Regions from separate parts of the Homo sapiens genome. Here regions 2 and 3 are each linked to region 1. The links are contacts of gene promoters, found by promoter capture Hi-C in human tissues and cell types (Jung and others, 2019). All regions are on one chromosome and are shown on one strand. The core of a region is centred on a gene start or on the middle of the fragment in contact, and the rest is flanking DNA. Distances in the headings are between cores, read along the strand shown. Region 1 holds the start of SPATA2 (spermatogenesis associated 2). Region 2 holds the start of LOC124904925 (a long non-coding RNA gene). Region 3 overlaps KCNB1 (potassium voltage-gated channel subfamily B member 1).

Evidence for each region. Contacts are between HindIII fragments. The study calls those that stand out against the background at their distance.
Region 2: a contact is called between a fragment that was not itself captured here and the fragment with the promoter of SPATA2 in region 1, in 1 of the 25 tissues and cell types used here (spleen).
Region 3: a contact is called between a fragment that was not itself captured here and the fragment with the promoter of SPATA2 in region 1, in 2 of the 25 tissues and cell types used here (dorsolateral prefrontal cortex and lymphoblastoid cells).

What each region holds. Positions count from the first base shown.
Region 1 is chr20:49,912,762-49,917,547 of GRCh38, reverse strand. It overlaps SPATA2 (spermatogenesis associated 2), which reads left to right and starts at 2,019. Exons shown (of 3, transcript NM_006038.4): 1 at 2,019-2,168. It overlaps LOC105372653 (a long non-coding RNA gene), which reads right to left and starts at 1,726. Exons shown (of 3, transcript NR_134564.1): 1 at 1,463-1,726. RefSeq lists enhancers at 1,978-2,037, 2,832-3,001 and a silencer at 2,068-2,317. The HindIII fragment of the contact is 5,477 bases long and covers 1-3,913 here.
Region 2 is chr20:49,306,790-49,311,575 of GRCh38, reverse strand. It overlaps LOC124904925 (a long non-coding RNA gene), which reads left to right and starts at 291. Exons shown (of 2, transcript XR_007067637.1): 1 at 291-378; 2 at 777-1,059. The HindIII fragment of the contact is 7,715 bases long and covers 1-4,786 here.
Region 3 is chr20:49,393,745-49,398,530 of GRCh38, reverse strand. All of the region lies in intron 1 of KCNB1 (potassium voltage-gated channel subfamily B member 1), which reads left to right. The region is part of intron 2 of LOC105372649 (a long non-coding RNA gene); the gene reads right to left. Among named protein-coding and RNA genes, the nearest start is that of KCNB1, 87 kb to the left of the region's middle. The HindIII fragment of the contact is 4,918 bases long and covers 323-4,786 here.

The DNA.
Region 1 (4,786 bases), core at 770-3,269:
TACTCCTCTGTATTGTTGGAATCATGTATTACTTTGGTGATGGAAAAAAAAACTAAAAAATAGAAAGAGGTAGGTAGATTGTTCGTGTTGTTGGCTCTTCGGAAGTAGAAGTGCCTAATCATTGTCACGTGACCCTTACATAATCTGGTAATCATTATATAATAAAGTCGGGAAAGGACGCTCCTGTCATTTCTACATCACCAAGTAGAGAAATCACAAGCCTTCAACTGTGTTTAAAAGATGAGAAACATGGCCGGACACAGTGGCTCAGGCCTGTAATCCCAGCACTTTGGGAGGCCGAGGTGGGCGGATCACGAGGTCAAGAGATGGAGACCATCCTGACCACCTTGGTGAAACCCCATCTCTACTAAAAATACAAAAAATTAGCCAGGCGTGTTGGCGCGTGCCGGTAGTCCCAGCTACTCCGGAGGCTGAGGCAGGAAAATGGCGTGAACCCAGGAGGCGGAGCTTGCAGTGAGCTGAGATTGTGCCACTGCACTCCAGCCTGGGTGACAGAGCGAGACTCCGTCTCAAAAAAAAAAAAAAAAAAAAAAAAAACTGAGAAATGTGACTGTCTTTGGAGACTTTGGGTCTTTTCTGATAGTAGATGATGACCAGGGTTTCCTACTGGTAAAGCCCTTCTTCAAAATCTTTGTTTCTCTTTTGCCTGTCATAGACCCACAGAGCTGGAGGGGACTTTTTTAAGCAGCCCCACGTGAAAATGCAATATTGTAAGAGCTACCAAACCAGAGTGCTGAGTTGCTGTAAGAGGCAGACTTAAGGTGGGACAGTTTGTCTCAGATGGAATTCCTGTGAACATCATCACATTGCAGATAATTAAGAGAGGAGCTTAAACATGAGCTGATAAAGAACACAGGGACTTTGAGCGGTGCTCAGGCAACGACAGGTAAACACAGTAATGCTACTGTTTGGACAGCAGCAGATTGCTGGTTCTCCAAACGTTTCCCAGTATTGTGTCACTGACTCATCACACAAGCCCCACCGGTTTTAGCTGGGGTCACCAAGACTCAGAGTGAGAATCCTACAATCAATGAACATCTGTTGTGTGCCTCCTCATCAGACATGTGCAGAGCTCGGGGGGAAATAGATGAATAAGAAGCTCAGGGTCTGGTGGGGATGTCAGATTATATATATATATAGTTTATCCGAAAGTGCTGGGATTACAGGCGTGAGCCGCCGTGCCCGGCTTTTTTTTTTTTTTTTTTTTTTTTTTTTTTTTAAGAGACGTGGCCTCGTTATGTTGCCCAGGTTGGTCTCGAACACCTGGGAGCAAGCCATCCTCTCGCCTCAGCCTCCCGACTAGCTGGGACTACAGTCGCGTGCCACCACGCCTGGCTTTATTATTTAATATTACAGGTTAGAAAGCTGAGGCTCAGAGAGGTTAGGTAACTTGTCCAAGGTCACACAGCTAGTAAGTGGCAAAACTAAAAATAGAACCCACGCTCTTAACCGCCGCCCACGGCCCGTAACACCCGCAGCCCTAGCAAGGCTGGATTCCAATCACGCGTGATTTCAGCATCTCACTGGCTCTCTTTGAGCCTCGGTACTTCTGTCCGTAAAATGGGGGCGAGGGATCCGACCGTCAGCCCCTGCTTGCTTGTGCGGAGTCATGAGTACAGCTCGTGGATCATGATAAGTGGCAGGTCCGGGAAGTGGAGGCCGAGTTCACGCAGTCAGCACTCATAGCTCCCAGCTCCCTGCTCCTGAGCGGTTTCCATGACAACCCGGCCAGCCACCATCCCTAGGCCGAGCGGCTTGCGTCACGTCCGGCCTGTTTACTTCCGGGTCCCAGTCTCAGACGCAGCGATGGCTCGTTAGGCTCCAAAGTGCGGTTCCGCCGGTTTCGTCCTCGCTCTTCGGCCTTCCGCTTTGTCCTCCGCCTCTGGGTTGTAGTCTCCGTCGGCCGCGGGCATCGACCGCTTCCCGGAGCCAGCGCGCAGCCGTGGTCCACCCTCTCTTCGGGCCCGCCTCATGGTGACATCATTTCCGGGCCGAGTGTTTCCGGGTCGCTGCTGGCCCCCGGGTACTGGTCTCAGTACCCCTGCAGCCGGCCGGAGAGGCTAGAGCCCGACGGGGCCCGGCTCCGGCGGCAGCCGCGCCTCTCGCTTGCTTCCCTCGGCCGGGCCGTCCTCGGCGGCAGTGTCAGGGTGAGTGACGGGCGGCCGCGGGCGGAAACTGCCTTCGGGGCTTCCCCAGGCGGAGGGGGCGCCAGACAGCGGCAGGGCTCGGCTGGCCCGGGAGCGGGGTACCCTCACGGCAGGCAGGACTACAGGTGGGCCCGCTGTTTCGGCGCTCCCGGGACCCCCAGCCTATCCTCAGGACCCCCATTCTCCCGGGAGCTGCCTCGCAGGCTCCTGGGACCCGCCGAGGGTGGCTCAGGGCCGCCCAAGAGGAACACCCCTCTTCGGCGACTGGCCAAACAGAAGGACACCCCGATTTCGCCACGAGGCAGTTACCGCGCAGGGGTTCCCAGTTCAGGCTCTGGCGGCACACCTGGGTTTGTACTCACTGTGTGACCTTGGATAAGTCACTTCATCTTAAGAGCCTCAGTTGCCTATTTAAGTGATTGAACCTGGTTGCTAGGGCTGGAGTGGAGATGGAATGAGATCATGCAGGGCCTCTGGCATACAGCAGGCGTCCAATAAGTGATAGTTCCTGTTACTTCATTCAATTCACGAAGCCGTAGGGGGGGCCAGAATTTGAGACTGGGCTGTTTTTCACAACTGACGTGGCCCCCCGAGGCTGTAGGAATGACCGAGCTGGGACTTAGCAGCCGCCAGCTTCTGTCCCCTGCAGGGAGGGAAACAGCTTCCTTCAGAGCTTCTCCGAGAGAGGCAGCTGCCACTAGGGAAGCTTCTTTCAGCACCGCTGAGGTTATTTTCAGAGGTTTGGAAGGACTCTGTGTGAATTTCTTTGGAATCTAGTAGGAGTGTGGGGACCTTCTGGTGTTTCACAGCCAGTGGAAGGTGCCTTGGATGTTTCTCGGAGCCTCTTGCTTGGAACGAGTGCATTGGTGTGGGTGGGGAGGTGGAGGGGGTTGAACTGACTTCCCCGTCTCCTGTTTGGAGGCTGATGGAGCTAGACCAGGGATGTGTAAACCTGTGGACAGGGGCAGTGCACAGACCAAAATAGGTCTGCCTGTGCAGAGAGGGGGCGCCTTCAAATGCTGCTTGGGGAACATTTCTGCTTGAATGGGCCAGCTGAGGTAAAGCCAAGCTAATGCTTAGCTACTCGGAATCACTTCACTTCCATGCAGTGGGACTCTAAACAGATACAGCTTTCCTCTTAGATGTTCAAAAAATAACTAAAGAAGCCACTGGCTCCCTGACTGTGCAATATCTCTTTTTCCATTGACTTGCTTTTCAAGAAGGTACCTAGATTGTGGGTGCAGGAGGTGCTGACTGGAGCCGTTGACTCTGGGCACCTGCCTGTCTCTGTGTTCAGGATATTCACAGTGCTGTTTTTTTGTTTTTTGGGTTTTTTTTTTTTTTTTTTTCCACCAGACTGGCACGGCTTGGCGTTCCAATCCTTGGGTTGCTTGGAGAAATTAGCAGCTTCTGTCGCTGGGCTGTCTCGGTCTCCTGTAACCACGATGTTTTTGCAGAGAGCGTATTTTGTTGTTCTTGCAGAGTGCTGGGAATGAATTGCTGGCTCTGTGCTCAGAAAAAACACCAGCTATGACCAGCTACAAGGCATCTTGTATTCTCAGAAAATGTTTTCAGCAGGGATGATGTCAGCTGCTTCATCACTGGCCGATGTCTCTGACCAGCCTCTTTCCTTGGCCCTTGAGCTTACATCATATAGAGATTAGCTCTCCTAGCCCCATTCGGTGTGGGAAGATGGGAATTTTGCTACTACAGGAATTTTTGTAACTCAACTCTGCTCGCGCCGCCATAAGGCATTCTAACTTAGCCAAACACTTTCGAGTAGAGCTGTCCAGCAGATGCAGCAGGATGGCTTTGCAAGAGTCGGAGTTTTGGCGTTAGACCTAGGTTCAGAGCTCAGATCCACTTCTTCCTAGCCTTACGACTTAGGGTAAGTGAGTTGGCCTCTCCGAGCCTCAGTTTCCTCTTTAACCTTGGATCTATCCTGTGGATTTCATTGGTTTTCACAGAGCAGTTAGCAGAGGGATGCCACACAGTAATCCCTTGGTAAATGGTACTGATGTAACAATAAATGAGTGAGGTAAATTGGAGAAAGCCCAGGCATCAAGGGCCTCCCAGCAAGAGTTCAGATTCCAGCTCTGACCCTTTCAAACTCTGTTGGGCAGGTTGTTTTAATGGGAAGAGCCTGTTTTCCTTATAGAGTTGTGAGGATTAAATGGGATGATGTAGGTAAAGTGGGAAGCCCAATGCTTAGCACATAGTAGAACCTCAGTAATTGTTAGTCTCTTTCTTTCCTTTCCTTATTGACTGATTGAGACAAGGTCTTGCTCTGTCACCCAGGCCGGAGTGCAGTGGTGCCATCATAGCTCACTGCAGCCTCAAACTCCTGGGCTCAGTGGATCCCCCCACCTCAGACTCCCAAGTAGCTAAGACTACAGGTGGGTGTCACCACACCCACCTAATTTTTTTTTTTTTTTTTTTTGTAGAGACGGAGTCTAACTATGTTGTCCAGGCTTGTCTTGCCCTTAATTATCTTTTAGCTTTTACTTTCTTCCGCCTTTTCCCTCACCTACCCAGGTTGGTTTGAGATTTGTTTTAGATAGGCTTCCTGTCCTTATTGTGAGTATTTTGAACATCAGCTGGGCTGTTTGGATCCCTTT
Region 2 (4,786 bases), core at 1,173-3,672, 610 kb after region 1:
GCCACCACACCCGGCTAATTTTTGTATTTTTAGTAGAGACCAGGTTTCACCATGTTGGCCAGGCTGGTCTCAAACTCCTGACCTCAGCCTCCCAAAGTGGTGGGATTACAGGTGTGAGCCACCATGCCCGGCCGCCCTGTTATCTCTCTAACCCCATGACTTGGTACTCTCTCTCTTGCCATCATCACTGGAGTCACACTGACCTTCGCTGTTCTTAGAACACTTCAGGCAGGTTTGTGATGCGGGGCCTTTGCTCCTGCTGTTCTTGCTGCTGGAATGCTCTTTCCCGTATCCTTTTGGCTTGTTGTTTCATTTCCTTCAGCTCTCTATTCAGATGTCTCCCTCTCACCCAGGTCTCTGCGGACCACCTGATATAAAGTAAGAATGCTTAGTCTCCTCCTGCACCCAGCCCTCCATAACCTCCTCCACATGATTTTCTGCAAGCATTTTAGCATCATCTGATGTGTTATATTTTTATTTATTTGTTTGCTTTTTGTGCACTTCCCCTGACCAGAAGTTAAGCTACATGAGAAAGAGACTTAGTTTAAGTGGTAGGCAGGCTTCTCAGATGACTCCCACTGACCTGGGCATTCACAAACTTGTTTTCACTTATGTAATTTCCTTCCCTGAAGTGTGGGCTGGACTTAGTGACTCACTTCCAATGAATAGAACAAGGCAAACATGATGGGATGTCACTTCCATGATGAGGCTACAAGATACCATGACTTCCTTTCTGCTCACTTTTTCCCACTCACTCACTCCTTTGATAAAACCAGGTGCCATGCTGTGAGCTGCCCAAGGGACAGGCCCATGTGGCAAGGAATGGACCTCAACCAAGAACCCTCAGAACTGAATCCCTCCAACAAAAAAGAGAGAGAGCTTGGAAGCAAATCCTTCCCTAAGCAGATCCTTCCCCAGTCAAGCCTTAAGATGAGAATGCAGCCCCAGCCAACACCTGGACTGTGGCCTATGAGAGGCCCCAAAGCAGAGGACCTAACTAAGCCACACCTGGATCCCAACCTACAGAAATCATGAGTTAATAAATGTTGTTTCAAGCCACCAAGGTTGGGAAGTAATTTGTTATGAAGCAATAGATAAATAACACAGTTTATTTCAGAGGTATCTGCCATGCCTAAGCAGTGTTTGTTGTGGAAAATTATGTTCAGTTTGCAAGGAGTCATTTAGGGTGCTGAGGAAGAGCACAAGCTCTGAAGTTGGACAGCCCCGAATTCACATTCCAGCTCTGCTCCTGACTTGCTGTGCGATTTGGGGAGAGTCATTTCACCTCTCTGGACCTCAGTTTTCTCATGCACAAATGTAGCTTCCTACATTCACTCAACAAGTATTTATTAAGTCTCAAGTTTCTATTTCTCCCACATCCAGCATGCATCCAATTCCTCAGCAAATCCTGTCATCTTCACGTTCAAAATATACGGATAGGCTATACCAATGCTGGGGACTCAAGAGTGAACAAAAGAGATGCAGCCCCAGTTTCATGGAGCTTGCAGTCTGGAGGGCAGAAATTTATTACACAGATAATCATACAAATATTTAGTTAATAGCTGTGATAAGTGCTGTGCATGAAAGATCAGCGAGCTAACTGAGCACATCAGAGATGCCTCATCTCTTCTGCAAGTCAGGGAGGGCTTCTCTGAGGAGGTGGCTGAGGAAGGAGGTGGCTGAGGAGGAAGCTGAGACCAATACAAAGAGTCACTCCAGCAAAAGTCCTAAAGTTGAATCCCATTGGATCCATCTGAGTTACATGCACATTACAGAGCCAGGAAGATGAAAATGCTGATTGGCCAGGCCAAGGTCATACCCCTCCCCAGGAGCCAGGGTTTAGGGTCAGCTTCACCCAAACCGCAGGTACTAAAAATGGTGGAAGAATAATTCTCCCTTGAAAACATTGGGGTGAGTTGTTATCAGAAAAGGTGTAAATGCTGGGCAGAAAGAAACAACAGCCATCCACAGCAGGACTTAAAATTTTATCTAGAGTTTTTATCTTAGAGTTTGAACCTCACCTTCCCCATGGATGGGCTTCCAGAGCACAACTCCTCCCCTGACCATGACAAAATTAGATAAAATTCATCACTCCCACTTTGAGGACACCACTATATTAAAATGTAGCATTTTAGACATTTAACATATATAAAGAACCCTTATTACTCAACAATAAGAAAACAGCCCAATAAAAGAAAGAGCAACAAAATTTTCAACAGACACTTCACAAAATAATACATGCAAATGGCCAATAAGCACATAAAAAGATACTCAATAGCGTTAGACATTAGGGAAATGCATGTTAAAATCATAATGAGATACCGCTTCACACTCATTAGAATGGCAAATATTAGAAAGACTGATCATCACAGGGTTGGTGAGGATGTGGAGCGCATAAAACTCTCACCCAGGGCTGGTGAGAACACAAAATGAGATAAACCACTTTGGAAAACAGTTCGGTAGTTTCTTGAAAAGTTAAATGTACCTACCATGTGACATGACTCAGTCTTTCCACTCCTAGGTATCTGCCTAAGAGAAGCTAAAATATCTGTTCACACAAAGATTTGTACACAAATGTTCAGAGCAGCTTTATTTGTAATCACCATAAATTAGAAGCAACTTAAAAAGTCCATCCACAGATGAATGGATAGACAAATTGTGATATATCCATACCATGGGATATACTCAGCAATTAAAAGCAACATATTGTTGATTTCTACAACATAGATGAATCTCAAAATCATTATGTTGAGTGAAAGAAGCCAGGCAAAAGCATATACATATGCTGCATAATTCCATTTCCATAAAACCTAGAAAATGCAAACTAATTTATAGTGACAGTTGTTGTTCAGTAGTGGAGGGGATGCAGGTAGGAAGGAATCACAAAGGGACACATGGAAACTTTTGGGGGTGAGGGACATGTGCTCTATCCTAGTTGGAGAGATGGTTTAATGGGTCTATGTCAAGAGTAATCAGGAGAGTGGCGTGAACCAGGGAGGTGGAGTTTGCAGTGAGCCAACATCGCGCCACTGCACTCCAGCCTGGGCGACAGAGCAAGACTCCATCTCAAAAAATAATAATAATAGGCCGGGCGCAGTGGCTCAACCCCAGCACTTTGAGAGGCCAAGGCAGGCGGATCACGAGGTCAGGAGATCGAAACCCTCTTGGCTAACACGGTGAAACCCCGTCTCTACTAAAAATATTAAAAAAAAAAAAAATGTAGCCGGGCGTGGTGGGCACCTGTAGTCCCAGCTACTCAGGAGGCTGAGGCAGGAGAATGGCGTGAACCGGGAAGGCAGAGCTTGCAGTGAGCCAAGATCATGCCACCACACTCCAGCCTGGGCGACAGAGTGGGACTCCATCTCAAAAAAAAAAAAAAAGAGTAATCAAATTGGGGCTGGGCTTGGAGGTTCATGTCTGTAATCCCAACACCTTGGGAGGCCAAGGCAGGAGGACTACTTGAGCCCAGGAGTTCCAGACCAGCCCTAGGCAACAAAGTGAGGAAGGAAGATTGTTTTATTTATTAAGGAAGATTTATTATCTCTGCAAATAATAAAATAATTTTAAAGACCAATCAAGTTATATACTTTAAATATGTGCCACCATCCAGGCACAGTGTCTCAAGTCCTGTAATCCCAACACTTTGGGAGGCCGAGGAGGGCTGATCACTTGAGGTCAGGAGTTCAAGACCAGCCTGGCCAACATGGTGAAACCTCATCTTTACTAAAAATACAAAAATTAGCCGGGCATGGTGGCAGGTGCCTGTAATCCCAGCTACTCGGGAGGCTGAGTCAGGAGAATCACTTGAACCCAGGAGGTGAAGGTTGCAGTGAGCCAAGATTGTGCCACTGCGCTCCAGCCTGAGCGACAGAGTGACTCCATCTCAAATAAATAAATAAATAAATGTACTATAATTATGCCCCAATAAAATTTGGGGGGAAACTTTATCTGGAGAAGAAAACAAACAGAAAAAGAAATATATTTGGAAGACTATACGCCAAAGAGTTAAGTATAATAGTTACCTTCAAAGAGTGGGAAAGGAGACAAGAGCTGTCACTTTAAGTTGTTTACAACAGGCACGTATTTCTTAATGAGTTTAAGGAAACAAGTAACATTGGTTTTGCCAGCAAGCCTTGGCCCAGCCTTTAGGAGACCTGTCACATGCCCACAAACGACCAGGTTATTCTGCCAAAAAAAGATACTTCCCGAATTTGAGTCAAGGGTTTCTGGGGGCAAATTCCCATCTGAAGACAATGAAAAATGTCCTCCCTCAGAACAAGGACTTTATTTACACCTTATGTCTACATTCCGGACTGGGGCCCGCACGGGATGATAGCCTAGGAAGATAATGGAGTCATTAATCTCTGTCAAGGTTAGACTCCACCTGCCAGCTTCCCATCTGGGTAATTAAACCAGCTGGCAGCCCTGTTATCAGTCTCCGTGGTGTCTGCAGCGCAGAGGAGGGCACCTCTGGACATGGCACTGGCTTCTCCAGAAAGACAGGTTCCTGAGTAACCTCAGGAGAAGCAAACTAAGCCCACGCTGGGTATTCAGGCCTGACTCTGGCTAGGAAGTAGAGCCAAAACCTAGGCAAACATGGCCCTCCTGGCACATCAGGGAGTTGGGAACAGATGTCTGAGCTTTTGCATTTGTATGGTTGCCCAGGTGTAAGCTTCTAACCTCACCCTAACCTTTAATTCTTTGAATGCCACGGGAGTTGCCTACCCCACAGCTAGTCTCCAATGAGCCCCACTTTCTTCCTTCCTCACTAAGACCACCAAGATGT
Region 3 (4,786 bases), core at 1,532-4,031, 520 kb after region 1:
GCACTTAGAAAAGGGCCTGACACATTGTCGGTACTCAGTAAATGTTAGTTATTATGTTCATTATCTATTCAGTGTACTCAATGGTGCCAACTTATATGACTCACTAGGATTAAAATCTCTTCCCTCCACCTGGATGCTCCTTTCCCAGATCTTCATACAACTCGATACTCCATCTTTGGGTCTCAGCTCAGATGTCACCTCCTCAGAGAAGCCCTCCCTGACTACCATAGTTGATGATGTCCCTACAGCCAGTCTCTATCCCATTAGCCCATTTTCTTGCACCTTGAAGAGATCCTTTTTAATTTACCTATTTCCTCATTTCATGTCTGCTTCCCCCACCCAAATATCAGTTCCCTGAAGACAGAGTCTGTCTTGATCACTGCTGTGTCCTCAGGATCTGGAAAAGTGTTTGGCACATAGCTTGGCTCCATAAATGTTTGATGAATGAATGCCCCTTTTCTTCCCCGATAGTATTTCTGTGCCGCATCATCCATCAGGGAGGACACTGGGGCAAAGATGTAGCAAGGGGGGAGGGGTGCAGAGATGCATACCCCAAATAGCTGGGTTGGAGCTTCGGGGGGAGACCTAGGTGAGCCTGCCACCCCTCTGTCCCCCAAGAAGGGTCTTTTAGATCCCTGTCCCCGGTTGTGTAGAGGGTCTCAGCTCTGGGTGGCCTAAGAGGACAGGAGCGTTCTTCTTGACTTGGGTCATCCTAGCCAAGGTCAGGCTAAAGCCAGCAGGCCTGGGATTACACACCCTTGCACATCCAGCTGCTTAGCCGGATTAGTGCAGACGCCATGCCCACAGGCCTAGGCCCAAGACAGGGGCCCCGGGAGGGTGAGTCACAGGCCACCTCACCCTCCTACTCCTCTGGCCTTTCCTACACTGGAGAAGCCTCAAGACCTACCAGGGACCTGACAGAGTGGCTGTATTTTCTGTGTATATTTTCATTACTGTTTATTGAATGTCTACTGTATACCAGGCCCTGAACGGGGCACTTTACAGGCTCTCAGTCAGTCCTTCAGTCTGAGAGACTAGGGCTCATTTATTTATTTTTAAAATTCAGTTCCTCAATAGTTATTAAGCACCTACTATGTACCAGACACAGGTCTAGGCATGAGAGATGCTGAAGTTACAAAGATGGTCCCTGCTTTCATGGAGCTTTTAGAGGAAAAGACAGGCAGGGAGTAAATAAATATTTTCATTTTTTAATTTTTTTAATTTTTTTTTTTTTAGAGATAGGGTCTCGCTCTGTCACTCAAACTGGAGTGCTGTGGCGGTGACATGGTTCACTGCAGCCTCGACCTCCTAGGCTCAAGCGATCCTCCCACCTCAGCCCCCCAAGTAGCTGGGACTACAGGTGCACGCCAACTCACCCGGCTAATTTTTGTATTTTTTGTAGAGACGGGGTTTTACCATGTTGCCCAGGCTGGTCTCAAACTCCTGAGCTCAGGCGATCTGCCTATCTCGGCCTCCCAAAGTGCTGGGATTACAGGCATGAGCCACTGCGCCCAGCCATGAATATTTTTTAAATGCTCTTCAGCTCCTCAAGCCAGAGGTGAAGAAGTCGGGAAGGGAAAATGTGGATGGGCAGGTAGAGCTTTCTCGTGCACTCTATAGGCCCAGGAAGGATGTTTGTGGCCCATAACCCACGGCTGCTTGTGGGGAGCTTTGCCGTCTGTGAGAGAATAGAATATGGACAAGCTTTTACCACAAATGTTTGTTGAATGACTGAATGAATATTCTGCTGTTGCTCAGAAGCCTTCCCAAGCTCCCCATTGTCTGCGGGGTCTGGTCCAGACCCCTCAGCTGATGTTCACAGCACCCCCATGATCTGGCCCCAGGTGCTCCTCCGATTCCTCTCCATCTCAGGAAACACCACCACTATCCTCCCAGTTGCTCAGGATGAAAACCTGGGATTCCATCTTGACTCTTCTTTCCCTCGCCCCACACATCTGAGCCATCAGCAATTGGTTGATTTCACCTCCAAAATATAACTTGAATTTGTCTTCCGTACTGTGAACAGACACAGTCTCTTGCCTGGACACCTACCACAGCCTCCTCACTTTGATTCCTGTTTCTATTCCAGTCCCCCTACAGGCTGTTCCTAGGTGCAGCTCGGGGATTATTTTATTTTATTTTATTTATTTTATTTTATTTTATTTTATTTTATTTTACTATTTTTTGAAACAAAGTTTCACGTTGCCCAGGTTGGAGTGCAATGGCACAATCTCGGCTCACTTTAACCTCTGCCTCCCAGGTTCAAGCGATCCTCATGTCTCAGCCTCCCGAGTAGCTGGGATTACAGGCGCCCACCCCCGTGCCCGGCTAATTTTTGTATTTTTAGTAGAGACAGGGTTTCACCATGTTGGCCAGGCTGGTCTCGAATTCCTGACCTCAGGTAATCTGCCCACCTCCGCCTCCCAAAGTGCTGGGATTACAGGCATGAGCCACTGCGCCTGGCTAGAGCTAGGGGATCTTTAAACCTACATTAGGCCATGGCCGTGTGGCTCCCAGGATTCTCAGGTTCAAAACATCCTATCAGGTCTTAAAGGCCTGCCTCTCTTCTCTCTTTGACCTCAACTCTCACGCCCTTTGTCTTCCTCCCTAGCACCAGGGACACTGGTCGCCTTTCTCCTCCTCTTCTTGCCAATCTCTTCCCTGCCCCAGGACCCTTGCACTTGCCGTGACTGCTGCCCGGACCGGCCTTTCCCCAGATCTTTGCGAGCTGGCTCCTTTGCATTCCTCAGATCCGCACTCACGCATCACCTCCTCAGTGAGGCCCTCCAAAGCCGTTGGGCTAAAGTAGTCCCCTATCTCCTGCCCGTCTTTTTTAATCCTCTAATTCTGCTTTACTGAGGTGTGGTAGGATGAGCGGTGGGGACTAGGAGGAGCTTCAGAGCAGTCTAGAAGCAGGAGAGACGAGGGGAAAATGCAGCCAGGGGCTCTAAGGAAGCAGCAACATGGCTTCTCTGCAGCCATATACGGATGGATGAGGGGCTGGCCCAGGCAGGGATTCCATCCGCATATTCCTGATCCAGGGCATCTCGCGGACCCAGCTCTTGGCCCAGCATTCCCTAAGGAACCCATGACTGCTTCTCTGGCACTGTTTAATCTTTTCCCTCATCGCTGGCTACACGTCTAATGATTTATTCCTGGGCTCCCAAACCAGATTCCTGCAGAAGCCAAGCGAGCCTCATAAACAACACGCACAGGGTGCACGTGAGATTTTAGAGTACAGGACTGGACTTAACACCGCGCAGCGGCAGCCTGGGCTTGCCACGGAGCAGCGTGGACCAAGAGTACCCAGAGCTTCAGATTTTTCTTGAGAAGCTCAAATGTGAATTCATAGGGAAAATAAATATTGGCAACGAATTCACTGTGTGGGCCAAAACTCCCTGCCGGTGGATGAGTGGGGGGCCGTCCTGCTGGCAGGGTGTCCTCGGTTCACATGCGTACCCTGGGGTACGCATTTTCCATGCATGATTTCATTGCTGCCTGACAACCACCTGTGCAGGGGGTATTATTCTGAGCCCCATTTTACAGATGAGGAAGCTGAGGCTCAGAGAGTTAATGTGATCATACATGCCAGAGTTCAACCTATATCTAGAACTAATCTGCTTGCCCAAAAGCTGAAGTGGTTCCAAACTCTGTACTAAGAGTGTCTACCTGTTTTGTCTGACTTCATCTTCCGATTCTGCCTGTTTCACACGGGAGACTCAGAGAGGTTAAGTAATGTACCGAAAGTCACCCAGCTGCCAAGGGCCAGGATTGGAACCCAACTTTGTCCAAAGTCAAAGTTTGTAGGCTAACCCCTTACTCTCTATCCAGTTTCAATATGAAGGAGCTTTGAGAAGTTCAAGTGACCACAGAATCCTTGGTGGTACTGAAACAATTATCTGTACAAGATCCTACTAAGCGTAAGCCCTGAGAAGTGCTAAGACTTCTGGCCCTTCTATGGAAACCCTGTGTTGCAGCCAGGGCTCTTAGATGACACTTTTTTGGAGAGAGTGGGATCCTCAGGAATTTTGTTCAAATGCTGACATCTGACCGCTTGTTCACTTTATGTGTCAACTCCTGGGCTTTGGTTGCTCCTGCCAGACCCCAGTGCAGGCTGGGAGAGTTTGGAGGATTCCAGATGCAATCTAGAATCTGCCCAGAAGCTTGCGGCTCATGGGGGAGCTTCCACCAGTGGGTATACCTCCTCCCGTCCTTCTCTCCACCACTCCTTGATCTATGGAAGAAGGGAACAGGCATTTCTTGAGGACCTGGTAGATGCCATGCACTTTCTTTGTGATATCTCAGTGTGATTCAGCCCCTTCCTTCCTGTGGATCCTAAACGCAAGTCATTTTACCTCTATGAATCTTAGCTCTCTCACCTGTAAAATTAAGATAACAATTTTGTTCAGTCAGATCACTTTTTATTTGCAAGGGTCAGAAATCCAGCCCAACTGGCCTAATCCAAAAAGAGCATTCATCAGTTCATATTGTTGGAAAATCCAAAGGGATGGCTTCAGGGATGGCTGGATCCAGGTGCTCAAATAATGTCATTAGAAACCTGTCTTTGTGTCTTGGCACAGAGTCCCTCTGCTTTGGCTACACTCTTGGGCAGATTTTTTTTCCCCAGAGAGCCAGAGTTGACCCTCCAGCCACTTCTGGTTGATATCCTGTTAACCCAACAGCCCCTGATGAAAGAGACCACCTCTTTCCCAATAATTTGAGAAAAAGTTCCAGGATGAACCCTGATTGACCAATTTTAGTCATGCCCACACTACTAAAGTAATCC